Linked DNA regions of Homo sapiens: region 1 is linked to region 2. Evidence: promoter capture Hi-C in 16 types of primary human blood cells and fetal thymus (Javierre and others, 2016). All regions are on one chromosome and are shown on one strand. Each heading gives the region's core, a stretch centred on a gene start or on the middle of the fragment in contact. The rest is flanking DNA. Distances are from core to core; before and after follow the strand shown. Region 1 overlaps BCL2L14 (BCL2 like 14). Region 2 holds the start of DUSP16 (dual specificity phosphatase 16).

Region 1 (6,334 bases), core at 1,011-3,510, 480 kb after region 2:
TTGTTTTTGTAGGATGGTTTGTACTTTGTCAAGAGTCCTTTTACTCTTGCTCTCTGATCTTCCCATCAACCATACGAGGTGGAGAGAGTGGGGTACCCAATGTACAGATGGAAACACAGAGGCCCTGAGCGAATGAGTTGACTTAGGAAGAGCAGCGGCCCAGGCAGCCCAAGCAAGCCCCTGGTTAGGGCTCGTTCTTTTTTTTTTTTTTTTTTGAGACAAAGTCTTACCCTGTAGCTCAGGCTGGAGTGCAGTGATGCAATCTCGGCTCACTGCAACCTCCGCCTCCCAGGTTCAAGCGATTCTCTTGCCCCAGCCTCCCGAGTAGCTGGGAATACAAGCATGCGCCACCATGCCCGGCTAATTTTTTGTATCTTTAGTAGAGACGGGTTTTCACTATGTTGGCCAGGCTAGTCTTGAACTCCTGACCTTATGATCTGCCCACCTCAACCTTCCAAAGTGCTGGAATTACAGGCATGAGCCACTGCGCCTAGCCTCCTTCTTTTATATTGGTGTCTGGTACAGAGGACTAGGAATTTGGGAAACAAGCTTATTTATAGACAGTGGAGAAAGAAAACCAGTCCCAGCACCCTTAACTTCCATCATTTCCTTTTAGTCATTTTTTTTTTTTTGACGGAGTCTCACTCTGTCACCCAAGCTGGAGTGCAGTGATGCCATCTTGGCTCACTGCAAGCTCCGCCTGCTGGGTTCACGCCATTCTCCTGCCTCAGCCTCCCGAGTAGCTGGGACTACAGGCACCCGCCAACACGCCCGGCTAATTTTTTGTATTTTTTAGTGGAGACGGGGTTTTACCGTGTTAGCCAGGATGGTCTCAATCTCCTGACCTCATGATCCACCCGCCTTGGCCTCCCAGAGTGCTGGGATTACAGGCGTGAGCCACCGCGCCCAGGCAGCAACTCCTTTTAGTCTTGAGAAAAGCAGGGCAATTATGATTGAACACTAATAAGTTGGAAAGCTGAGGCACAACGCATGCCTTCTCTAAAGCCACTTTACAACATGAGAAGAGATGTACCACTCTGGACACAAAGAAGGGAAAAACCAGGAAGCGGGAGAGAAAGAAATCCCAGATGCCTACCTTCATGCTCCAAGCACTGCTCCACGTTAGAAAGACACCTGGACCACTGCTGGCTGTGCGAATCTTGGTATTCCAACGTCCTTTGACCCTGAGCAGAGACCTTGGCAGGCGTGCTCTGCGAATCTTCCTTCTCCACTACTCCAAAGAATGCTTTCCAAGAAGACTTTTTCTTGCCAAGGTTTATGGCCTTCTCACTGGATTGGGAATTTCTGCAAGGCCATGACACCTCTGTCCATGACTCATTTGCTGAACAATTCCCCAGGCCCCTCTGGGACAAACTTCTTGTTCTCAGCAGCTTTGGTGAGAAGAGAGCAGGGGTGCTCTTGAAGACATGATGTCTGGTGTAGTAGGCGAGGATTTTGAATTCTATGGTGTTTAGGTCATCATCATCTAGGGGGATTTCTTCCAGGTCACACCCACTGGTGCTACACATGTTGGGCCTGTAACAACAAAGTCCACACTGTGCCCTTCTATGCAGGGCCACTTACCCTTTGCAGGTTAGGAGAGACAGGGGTGAAAACTCAGGAAACATTTATTGAACATCTATTGTGTTTGTGCTGGAGGGTAGAGAGGGAAAAGCCACAGTCTTACTAGGGTGGGAAGAGAGACATGGCCATAGATAACTCCACATAAAGAAAATGAACTGCCGGGTGCGGTGGCTCACGCCTGTAATCCCAAAACTTTGGGAGGCCAAGGCGGGCAGATCATGAGGTCAGGAGTTCAAGACCAGCCTGGCCTATACAGTGAAAGCCCGTCTCTACTAAAGATACAAAAATTAGCCAGGCATGGTGGCGCACGCCTGTAGACCCGGCTACTTGGGAGGCTGCGGCAGAAGAATCGCTTGAACCCAGGAGTCGGGGGTTGTAGTGAGCTGAGATTGCGCCACTGCACTCCAGCCTGGCGACAGAGTGAGACTCCGTCTCAAAAAACAAAAAACAACAGAGAGAGAATGAACTAATGAACTAAGTAAGAGGTCTAACAGAGATGCAGATAGCCAGGTTAGAAGGCAGGGATAGGTGAGCTTCAAAGAAAGAGGCAAGTGAAAGCTTTTGGAAAGCTAGAAGGAGTTAGACAGGTGGGTGGATATTGGGGCTACAACAGGGCGGGCAGAGGGGAGATTATAGGTGAATTCAGAATGTGTTTGAAGAGTGGTGAGAGAACTGGGACAGCATACGTATGCAGTTTGCAAATAGCCAGGGCTTGAAAATAGTGGAGGGAAAATAAGTGAACTAGCACTTGGGTCCAGATTATGGTGGTCTTTGACTATCAGGCTGAAGCTTCGCATTTTCTCACGTTGATCAGTACATTTCAAAATGAGCTGTGGACTGTGGAGTTAAAGGTCTTGCTGGGGAGGTGGCAAAAGAGGGAGGCCAATTCAGGGAAGAGAAATGCCTGGGACCTGACCCTTCCCTTCCTCGGTTCCTTCTCCCTCTACCCTCTGCTTTAGCTTGTCCCGGCTTCTCTCTCCTCTCTCTCTCTCTTTCTTTTTTCTTGCTATATTTGGTATGCCATGTAAGATTTCATCTGAAAAAAGCATCCTGTTATTTTATTTTACTTTTTACGAATTTGAAACACACTGATGGAGGCAATGGAGAGCTGTTCAAAGTTTTGAGTAGAGAGTGATGTGATCACAGGCATGTTTGAAAAAGATCAGTACAAGCACTAAAACAACAGGATGCAAGCATTTCTTCTTTATTTCCATACGAATAACAGGATAGATAAAGAACTGATTTTGTTCAATTTCCTTTGCTTGAGCTTACATGAAATAACTCCTTCTCTGGTTTCCTGCTAGGAAAGCAGTTCTTTTTGCTAATAATCTGTTTCCTTCTGCTGTCTGTTAAGGACTACATTTTCCTTTTAGTCTCAGATGCGAGAAAGCTCAGATCTACCGTGTGAAATGTCCCAGGCAGTGAGCGTATCAAGAATTAGCTTGGGCTTCTCAGTCTAACAGTCCCAAATTCAGATTGTGGCCATGCCAGTGACTAGTTTTGTGACCTGTGGCAGGTTACTCCATCTCTCCAAACATGAACTTCCTGCAGGCAAATTGTAAATAATAATAGTCATCTTGCAGGGATATTGTAAGGGTGTAAGATACACAAGAGAAGTTCCTGCACAGAACCTGGTTCAAAAGTGGTAGCTATGTTTTTTTTCTAGTTCAGCTGTTGTCCTAGGCCCCAGGCTCTCTTTTTTTTTTTTTTTTTGAGACTCAGTTTTGCTCTGTTGCCCAGGCTGGAGTGCAGATCATAGCTCACCACAGCCTCAACCTCCCCGGCTCAAGGGATTCTCTCACCTCAGCCCCTCAAGTAGCTGGGAACACAGGCACATGCCACCACACCTGGCTAATTTTTTTGTTTTGTCTTTTAGAGACAAGGTCTCGCTATGTTGCCCAGTCTGGTGCGAAACTCCTGGGCTCAAGTGATCCACCTGCCTCAGCCTCCCAAAGTGCTGAGATTACAGCCATGAGCTACCATGCCCGGCCTCAGGCTCTGTCTTAATATGGCTCTTAATAATGTTCCCTTCCCTTTCTGGTCCTAATTTAAGACGGTCTTTCGGCATGTAAGCTGCTGTGATGATAAAGAAGCTGCAGTAATATTAAGGGGACTGGCTGGCATGTTCCTCTTTTTCTTTCCACTGTACCTTGTCATACCAGGACCAAATGATAAAGAAATGGGACAGTAACTGCAGACAGGGTTTGAGGCAATGTGAGGTGGTACAGACAAGTTGGCCTGGGTGTCTGAAGGATGGATAGCCACGGCTGGCTCAGCTTCTAACCTGCAACATCCTTGGGCAAGTCACGCCACCTTTTTGTTCCTCGGTGTCCAAGTTGTTAGATAGAATAAGGATATTCTCTAACTTTTCCCCCTGGTTCTGCTATTGGAAGGAGGTGTAGGAGCTGAAATATCTCCCCTGAGGGCCTGCTGGATGCTGCCTTTTTCCATCACTGTCTCCTCTCCTTTACTTAGAAGAGGCTCACATTGGCTGATAGCGAAGCTGTTGATCTGAGGAACTGCTCCTTGGCCAGGCCCCAGGAAAGCAAGGGTCCCTGGCTAGGTGCGTTCTGATGGAAGTGAGCCTGGGAGGGATGCAGCGGGCTATGCTGCAACATCAGGTGATGCTGGAGGGGACAAAAATGGCCCTCCCAGTGCAGCAAAGGGCAAGTTGCAAAACCCACCAGACCAACTACACAGATACAATTATACAACTTCCAAGCCCCGCAAACCTCCCTCACATAACTGGATGTAAGCAAATGCTTGAGGAGTATGGCATGAAGTGGGGGTCATGACTGCAATCCTTCCTCCTCCTCTGCTGTTTCTTCACATTCCTGTCTTATTCCAGGGCTTGGACAATCTTTCTTCCCGCCACTGCTCCAATTTCACATTCACTTACATGCATTTCACTTACATGCAAATCGTTTGCTCTGTAAGGAGTCACGTCAGTGTCTCCTCGAAGGTCATGTTCCTTACTGCTTTTCCACTTACCCCTTCCCGCTCCCCAATTCCATCCAATCCCACCCTCCCCCATGCATTTTCCGGGCATCCCACCCTCCCCCATGCATTTTCCGGGCATCCCACCCTCCCCCATGCATTTTCCGGGCATCCCACCCTCCCCCATGCATTTTCCGGGCATCCCACCCTCCCCTCATCCATCCTGCAGCACAGCCCTGTCCATTCTGCTTGTACTGGACATCTGGTGACCCTATACTCACCCCAGCTCCACTTCCCTGTTCCCAATGACCAATCTTGGTCTCACTAAAGGTGAGACAACCATTATGTGTCTCCTGATCCAAAAACATTGGATCCGAATCTGATCAAGCCTCTGGATCTAATGATCAGTTTACAGGAAATACAGGGGACAGAGAAATAAACTAATGACCACAAGAAGGCAGCTATCCAAATTCAGTATCTGGTAAGTTCTGCAAGACAAATGGCCGGTTTCTTCAACAAATAAATGGCGCCAAAAAAAGGTGAAGACAGAGAACTGCTACAGCTTAAAAGAGACATAAGAAACATATCCGGCAGGGGACGATGGCTCACGCCTGTAATCCTAGCACTTTGGGAGGCCAAGGCGGGTAGTTCACCAGAGGTCGGGAGTTTGAGACCAGCCTGACCAACATGGAGAAACCCCGTCTCTACTAAAAATACAAAATTAGCCAGGCATGGTGGCACATGCCTGCAATCCCAGCTACTCGGGAGGCTGAGGCAGGAGAATCACTTGAACCCAGGAGGCGGAGGTTGCAGTGAGCCGAGATCACGCCATTGCATCCAGCCTGGGCAACAACAGCGAAACTCCGTCTCAAAAAAAAAAGAAAGAAAGAAAGAAAGAAAGAATAGAAACATATCAGGCAGGGCACAATCGTTCACGCCTGTAATCCCAGCACTTTGGGAGGCAGGAGTTCAAGAGCAGCCTGGCCAACGTGGTGAAACCCTGTCTCTAAAAAAAATACAAAAATTAGCTGGGCATGATGGCAGGTGCCTGTAATTCCAGTGAGTTGGGAGACTGCAACAGGAGAATCACTTGAACCTGGGAGGCAAAGGTTGCAGTGAGCGGGGATCGCGCCATTGCACTCCAGCCTGGGTGACACACGGAGACTCTGTCTCAAAAATAAATAAATAAATAAAAAGAAAAAAAAGAAACATATTAAAAAAAAAGAGACATCAATTAGATGTCATGAGTGGATCTTTATTAAATCGTAATTCAAACATACTGTATAAAGATGTAGATATCTTTGAGATGATAGAGAACTAAACACAGTACAGTGTATGTTTTAGATGATATTAAGGAAGTATTGATCATCTTGGCTGGCACCGTGGCTCACACCTGTAATCCCACCACCTTAGGAGGCCAAGGTGGGAGGATCACTTGAGACCTGGATTTGGAGACCAGTCTAGGCAACAAAGTAAGATCCCATCCCTATTTTTTAAAATTTAAAAATTAAAACATTTTTTAAAAAGATAATCTCATTAAATGTGGTAACATTGCCATTAAAAAGTACATATCTGGGCTGGGCGCGGTGGCTCACGCCTGTAATCCTAGCACTTTGGGAGGCCGAGGTGGGCAGATCACTTGAGGTCAGGAGTTCAAGACAAGCCTGGCCAACATGGTGAAACTTTGTCTCTACTAAAAATACAAAAATTAGCCAGGTATGGTGGCACATGCCTGTAATCCTAGCTACTTGGGAGGCTGAGGCTGGAGAATCACTTGAACCCAGGAGGTAGAAGTTGCAGTGAGCTGAGATGG
Region 2 (6,520 bases), core at 4,021-6,520:
TTTATCTGCTTGAAAAAAAACCCAACTCTCTAAAACGCAACCTTTTATGCTTACTTAATTGCAAATGTCCTCTTCATAAATCAGATCATGTACTAACTGCTTAAATCTTTCAGAATAGAATCTGAACTCCATACACTATAAGGTACTACATAATCTGGCTCCTGCCCACCCTTGTTTTATACTTTTGTGCCCCACTGGCTTCCTTTGGCTCTGGGAACACACCAACTCTCTACAAGTCACTCTGTTTCTGCTGAACGGTCTTAGAGTGACCTGTTTTCTCTACCCTGACCACTTCCCCTGTTGCCATCCTTAAGGTCTCAGTTCAAATGTCCCCTCTTCATTTGAACTTCCCCCACCACCTTCACCCCTACCCCAAGTCACTCACTATCACCTCACCCAGTTTTTTTTCCCTGTGTAGTCCATCTTGTCACAGTCCAGGCCGTGGTTTTTGTTTATTGGCTTATTGTCTTCTCTCTCCACTTGAATGTTAGTTTCATGAGAGATAGGTAATCTTATTTATAACCATATTCCCAGAGCTAGGTGCAGTGCCTGGCACATAAGGGTAGTAGGCACTCAATCACTGTTTGTCAATGAATAAACTTCAGCCAGGGATGGATTAAGTAAGACCTTAAGAGGGTCTAAACACTAAGGATTATGGTGCTTCTCCCCCATATTTAATTCTAACCAGCAATTTTGGTGCTCCTTCCCCATATTTAACTCTAACTAAAAAACAGTACTAAACCACACACTTACATGTACTGAAGCAAAAATAGCTTCTTTCTAGATTATCTGATTGTAAACCTTGGACTCCCTGCCTTGCTGGTGCCCTAAGTGTATGTGCTCTTCCTCTGTCTTGGGGGAGTCTAGCACTCACTCAGTCCTCTAGATGTGTTGGACACTGTTTTAGTTTAAGATTGCTTATGACTACAAAAAACCTTGCTGGGATATTGATGAAAATTACGTTAACTCTATAGATCAATTTGGGAAGAAATGACATGTTTATTGATTCTTCCAATCCATGAATATAGTATGCCATTCCAATTATTTGTCTTCTTTAATTTCTTTCATCAGCATTTTATAATTTTCATCACACAGATGTTGTACATGTTTTGTTAGATTTATATGTAAATATTTCACGTTCTTTGGAGCAATTGTAAAATGGTTCTGTTTTTAATTTCTGTTTCCACATTTTTTATTATTATTTTTTATTTTTTATTATTTTTTTTTTATTGATCATTCTTGGGTGTTTCTCGCAGAGGGGGATTTGGCAGGGTCACAGGACAATAGTGGAGGGAAGGTCAGCAGATAAACAAGTGAACAAAGGTCTCTGGTTTTCCTAGGCAGAGGACCCCGCGGCCTTCCGCAGTGTCTGTGTCACTGGGTACTTGAGATTAAGGAGTGGTGATGACTCTTAACGAGCATGCTGCCTTCAAGCATCTGTTTAACAAAGCACATCTTGCACCGCCCTTAATCCATTTAACCCTGAGTGGACACAGCACATGTTTCAGAGAGCACAGGGTTGGGGGTAAGGTCACAGATCAACAGGATCCCAAGGCAGAAGAATTTTTCTTAGTACAGAACAAAATGAAAAGTCTCCCATGTCTACTTCTTTCTACACAGACACGGCAACCATCTGATTTCTCAATCTTTTCCCCACCTTCCCCCCCTTTCCATTCCACAAAACCGCCATTGTCATCATGGCCCGTTCTCAATGAGCTGTTGGGTACACCTCCCAGACGGGGTGGTGGCCAGGCAGAGGGGCTCCTCACTTCCCAGTAGGGGCGGCCGGGCAGAGGCGCCCCTCACCTCCCGGACGGGGCGGCTGGCCAGGCGTGGGGCTGACCCCCCCACCTCCCTCCCAGACAGGGCGGCTGGCCTGGCGGGGGCTGAGCCCCACCTCCTTCCCGGACTGGGTGGCTGCCGGGCGGAGACGCTCCTCACTTCCCAGACGGGGTGGCTGCCGGGCGGAGGGGCTCCTCACTTCGCAGACGGGGCGGCTGCCGGGCGGAGGGTCTCCTCCCTTCTCAGACGGGGTGGCTGGGCAGAGACGCTCCTCACCTCCCAGACGGGGCGGCGGGGCAGAGGCGCTCCCCACATCTCAGACGATGGGCGGCCGGGCAGAGACGCTCCTCACTTCCTAGATGGGATGGCAGCCGGGAAGAGGCGCTCCTCACTTCCTAGATGGGATGGCGGCCGGGCAGAGACGCTCCTCACTTCCAGATGGGGCAGCCAGGCAGAGGGGCTCCTCACGTCCCAGACGATGGGCAGCCAGGCAGAGACGCTCCTCACTTCCCAGATGGGGTGGCGGCCGGGCAGAGGCTGCACTCTCAGCACTTTGGGAGGCCAAGGCAGGCGGCTGGGAGGTGGAGGTTGTAGCGAGCCGAGATCACGCCACTGCACTCCAGCCTGGGCACCATTGAGCACTGAGTGAACCAGACTCAGTCTGCAATCCCGGCACCTCAGGAGGCCGAGGCTGGCGGATCACTCACGGTTAGGAGCTGGAGACCAGCCCGGCCAACACAGCGAAACCCCGTCTCCACCAAAAAAATACGAAAACCAGTCAGGCGTGGCGGTGCGTGCCTGCAATCGCAGGCACTCAGCAGGCTAAGGCAGGAGAATCAGGCAGGGAGGTTGCAGTGAGCCGAGATGGCAGCAGTATAGTCCAGCTTCGGCTCGGCATCAGAGGGAGATCGTGGAAAGAGAGGGAGCGGGAGCGGGAGCGGGAGAGGGAGAGGGCTGTTTCCACATATTTATTGTTAGTATGTAGAAAACCTTTCTTAGTAAAAGAAAGAAATGTACTCTTCGGTGAAGTAAACTTGTTTAGTGGTTTCCCCTTCACCTGCTGGGCAGGTAACAATCTATTTATTCTAACATTCAAGTACCTCCACAATGTGCCTCTGTATCTCTTAAATTTAACCTCATACCTAATTGCTAAATACCGATTTCTACTGCTACTGGGTTTACTCTTCTGTCACTTGAATACACCTTACTCATTATTCATTCCACCTCCATGTCTTGGCTCATTGCCATTTGCCCTCTGGAATCTTCCCTCCACTGGCTTCTTCACTGCAAACTAAATCTGAACTGTCCTTCAAGGATAAGGTCAAAACTCTTTATAAGGTGCCTTCCCTGATAATCCCAGCCTACATTGCTCCTTTTCTCCCCTGATGTTTTTTTTTGTTTGTTTGTTTTTTTTTTTTTTTTTGAGATGGAGTCTCACTCTGTTGCCAGGCTGGAGTCTGGAGTGCAGTGGTGCGATCTCGGCTCATTGCAACCTCCACCTCCCGGGTTCAAGTGATTCTTCTGCCTCAGCCTCCTGAGTAGCTGGGACTACAGGCGCCCACCACCACGCCTGGCTAATTTTTGTATTTTTAGTAGAGACGGGGTTTCACCATGTTGGCCAGGATGGTCTCGATCTCTTGACCTCATGATCCACCCGCCTCGGGCCTCCCAAAGTGCTGGGATTATAGGCTTAAGCCACCACGCCCGGCCCCCTGACTCTTTTAACCAATATTGTACATCACTCAATCATTGATTTCGTTTTTAATGAGCTTTAATATACGTCTTGTTTCCAGAAATAGATGAAATACCCTGAGAGACTTCTATGATAGCTATGATGGCACCACATCATACATTACACAAACTTAATTGTGTAACTGAGGAAAGGGGAGAAACGTTTCAAGCCATGTCAGTTAAAGCAAGGTTACTGGAACTTTGGCATGCAAAGGGGATACCATTAATTCTCATGAATCTTTCCTCCAGGCAAGATCCATGCTCTGTACCACTAGTAAAAGGACTATCTTCTTCTTCCTTCCTAAAAATCCCAACACCTCCAACAAAGGTCTACAGTTAGATTTTTAGGGGTTTCCTGGTAGAGCACAAATAATCCCAAGGAAGCTGCAGTAACACCTCCTGGCCACCAGAGGACAGGGAGCAGTGGGAGAGATTTGCTTCCCCTAGCAAAGTCTTCAAGAGGCCAGAGGCACAGGCTCAAAGTTGCTTCTCCATCTGTGGCCTTCAGGCTTTACCTACTACTGCCAGAGGTGCTAGGGTGCCTCCCATCTTCAAATGGGCTTTTTTTTTCCCTCCTATAAAAGATGGGCCAGAAGTTCCCAGGGCCATACCCCGCAACACTAACCTTCAATGATTACCAATCATAAGGAATGCCTTTAGTTGCAGGACTTAAAGGCAGAAAAGTAGTAACAGGGGTGTATTATCTTTCGAACCCACCCAAACCTGCTTATCAGTTCTTTTGCTAGTGGAAAAACGTGCTTTAGGCAGGGTGCACATGGATATCCCACAGCAAACAGTGCCTTTAGGGTCTAGTGTCCCAATCCGGCACATTGTAAATGGAATATTTGAAGAGTTAGATTATTCCTACACATAAATTCTGGCTCATGGAGCAGTCCACTCGCAGGGTGCTTTTCCGTCATTAATCACATCTTTGTTATGTGATATCCACGTGAGTACTTCTCAGTAGAAGCAGCTTCATGCTCAAATGCTCAAAGAACATTGGAATAAAGCTCCGATTGTCCTATTCAGTGATTCCAAGTCCTGGTTTGTCACCACCTCAGGTCTCTCGTTTTCCAAAGTGCATAATGTCATCTCAAAACAGACATTTTAATGAATTCAAATAATAAAATGCACGAGGTATGTGGAGTTAAATCAACAAGGGTTTTGTACCTCTCAAGAGGCGGTTAACCCCTGGTCTTATTTAAAGATGTTTCTGCGCTGCCTCCTGTAGAAAACATTTTTAAAGAAAATGTAGGCTGCTTATCCTTGTATTTGTAAATATAAGCAAAGTAAAGTAATGTAGGAACATTTATGTGGGGGCTTTCAACCATAAACATATAGATAGCTGAATGCCTGACAACAGTAGTGTGATTTTTCTTGAAGTACCTGTAACTTCTCTCCTGAGAGATGGCAGAGCCTTGCCTTTTGCATTCGCCAGACTTTTTACAGAGCGAGTGTAATTCTCTCAAATCAGTGTTTGCGTTTTTTGACGTTGGTGAGGCAGCTGGAAACAGCTCAAGGAGGAGGGAAAGGTTCTGCGTCTGGGTGAGGGAGAAAACCCTCCGATACCTGTTGGGGCGCAGCACTGGAGGCGGACACCCCGGCCCGGGGGTCGGGGCCGCGAGCCCGGGGGTAGGGGGCGGGCGCGCGGGCGCGGGAGGAGGAGGAGGAGGAGGGAGAGGTGGGGGAGGAGGCCGCGGGGCCGCCTCCTCCGGCAGCTCCGGCTCCTCCCAGCGGCGCCCGCGGAACCTGCCTCAGAGTCGCCGGACTCTGGAAGGGAACATGACCTGACCCCTCCCCGAGCGGCCGGAACGAGGCGCGGAGCCGCGCTCCGGGCTCGGGCGGCCGCGGGATGGGCGAGCGCGCGGCCCCGCCCGGCGCCCACCGCCCTGCCCTCGCCTGTCTCCTCCTTTCCCCGGGGCTCCGCTGAGTTCATTCACTGGGATTGGTTTCAAGTGACGCCATCTCTTTATTTTTAAACCAATGACCTCATCCGCGCTTGAAGTTTCCTGACCAGCGACTCTTTCTCTTTCCCCCAACCCCCCACCCCACCCCCCCGCCTTTCCCCCTCTTTCTATGTATCAGTGTTTGGGGGGCTTTAATCAGTTTTTAAACGATTATTACCACCTCTCTCTCCCCCCCAACCCCCACTTTCACAACGCGGCCCCCCACCTTTACCTCCCTAAGTTCTTCATCTCTTTCGACATTTTTTTTGAAGGCTGATGGGGGGGAGGGTGGAAGAGAAAGAGTGAAGAAAAGTTGCGAGCGTCTCCTCTCTTCCTAAGCCTCCCGCCCCAACCCACCCCTCAGAGAAGGAGAAGATAATATACTGAAAAGAAGAGGAGGAGGAGAGCGACGGGACGGGACGCGAGCGGGAGCGCAGCCGCCCTCTCGGCTCCGCGGCGGCGCCTCGCAAGTCCGGGAGGCGAGGGGGGCCCGAGGGGAGACGCCGTGACAACTTTCGTTTCCCTCTGAGGGAATTGGGAGGTCGGCGGCCCCAAAAGTAAGTGGCCTTGGCGGGCCGCGCGGGGTGTGCGGGCGGGAGGGTGCGGGGCCCGGGGCGCCCTCCCGCCCGGCCGCATGGACGCTCCGCAGCGCGCCCCGACTCCCGGTGCCGGGCGCCGCGCTCCAGCCCCGCCGTCTCTGCCTTCCCGGGCGTACCGGCCACCCTTTCGGGAGGCGGCGTGGGGGCGACCGCGGCCGGGGGCCGCAGGAGCGTTTGAAGCGGGGGTGTAGGCCTGGCCGGAGGCTGGCCGGAGCGGGAAGGGGGCGTGCGGCCGGGCGCGGGGTCGCAGTGGGTGCGCTCCCGGCCGCTGCGCGGCGCTTGGACCGGGCCCCGCCGAGAGGAGCGGCCGCCGCGGGACGCGGCACCTTTGCGGGCGAAGCTGCTCACTTCCAGGCGCGACTGTTACACAACACGCCTGCCAAGTGGGGCCCTGGCCTGACTGTTCCCATTATCCCCAGTTCGCCTTTGGTGTAAGCAGCGAGGCCACCTGGGTGGTGACGG

Evidence for each region. The method cuts DNA at HindIII sites, captures the fragments that hold promoters and counts their contacts. A CHiCAGO score of 5 or more calls a contact.
Region 1: a contact is called between a fragment that was not itself captured here and the fragment with the promoter of DUSP16 in region 2, in 1 of 17 cell types (endothelial precursors). The highest score is 5.0, in endothelial precursors.

Annotation. Positions count from the first base shown.
Region 1 is chr12:12,074,501-12,080,834 of GRCh38, reverse strand. BCL2L14 (BCL2 like 14) reads right to left here. Exons shown (of 6, transcript NM_138723.2): 2 at 1,097-1,536. The coding sequence starts at 1,529. Among named protein-coding and RNA genes, the nearest start is that of BCL2L14, 6.7 kb to the right of the region's middle. The HindIII fragment of the contact is 231 bases long and covers 2,145-2,375 here.
Region 2 is chr12:12,561,613-12,568,132 of GRCh38, reverse strand. DUSP16 (dual specificity phosphatase 16) reads left to right here and starts at 5,270. Exons shown (of 7, transcript NM_030640.3): 1 at 5,270-6,016. It also overlaps the pseudogene RPL19P17. RefSeq lists silencers at 4,961-5,470, 5,921-6,000, 6,031-6,150, 6,171-6,370. The HindIII fragment of the contact is 13,074 bases long and covers 1-6,520 here.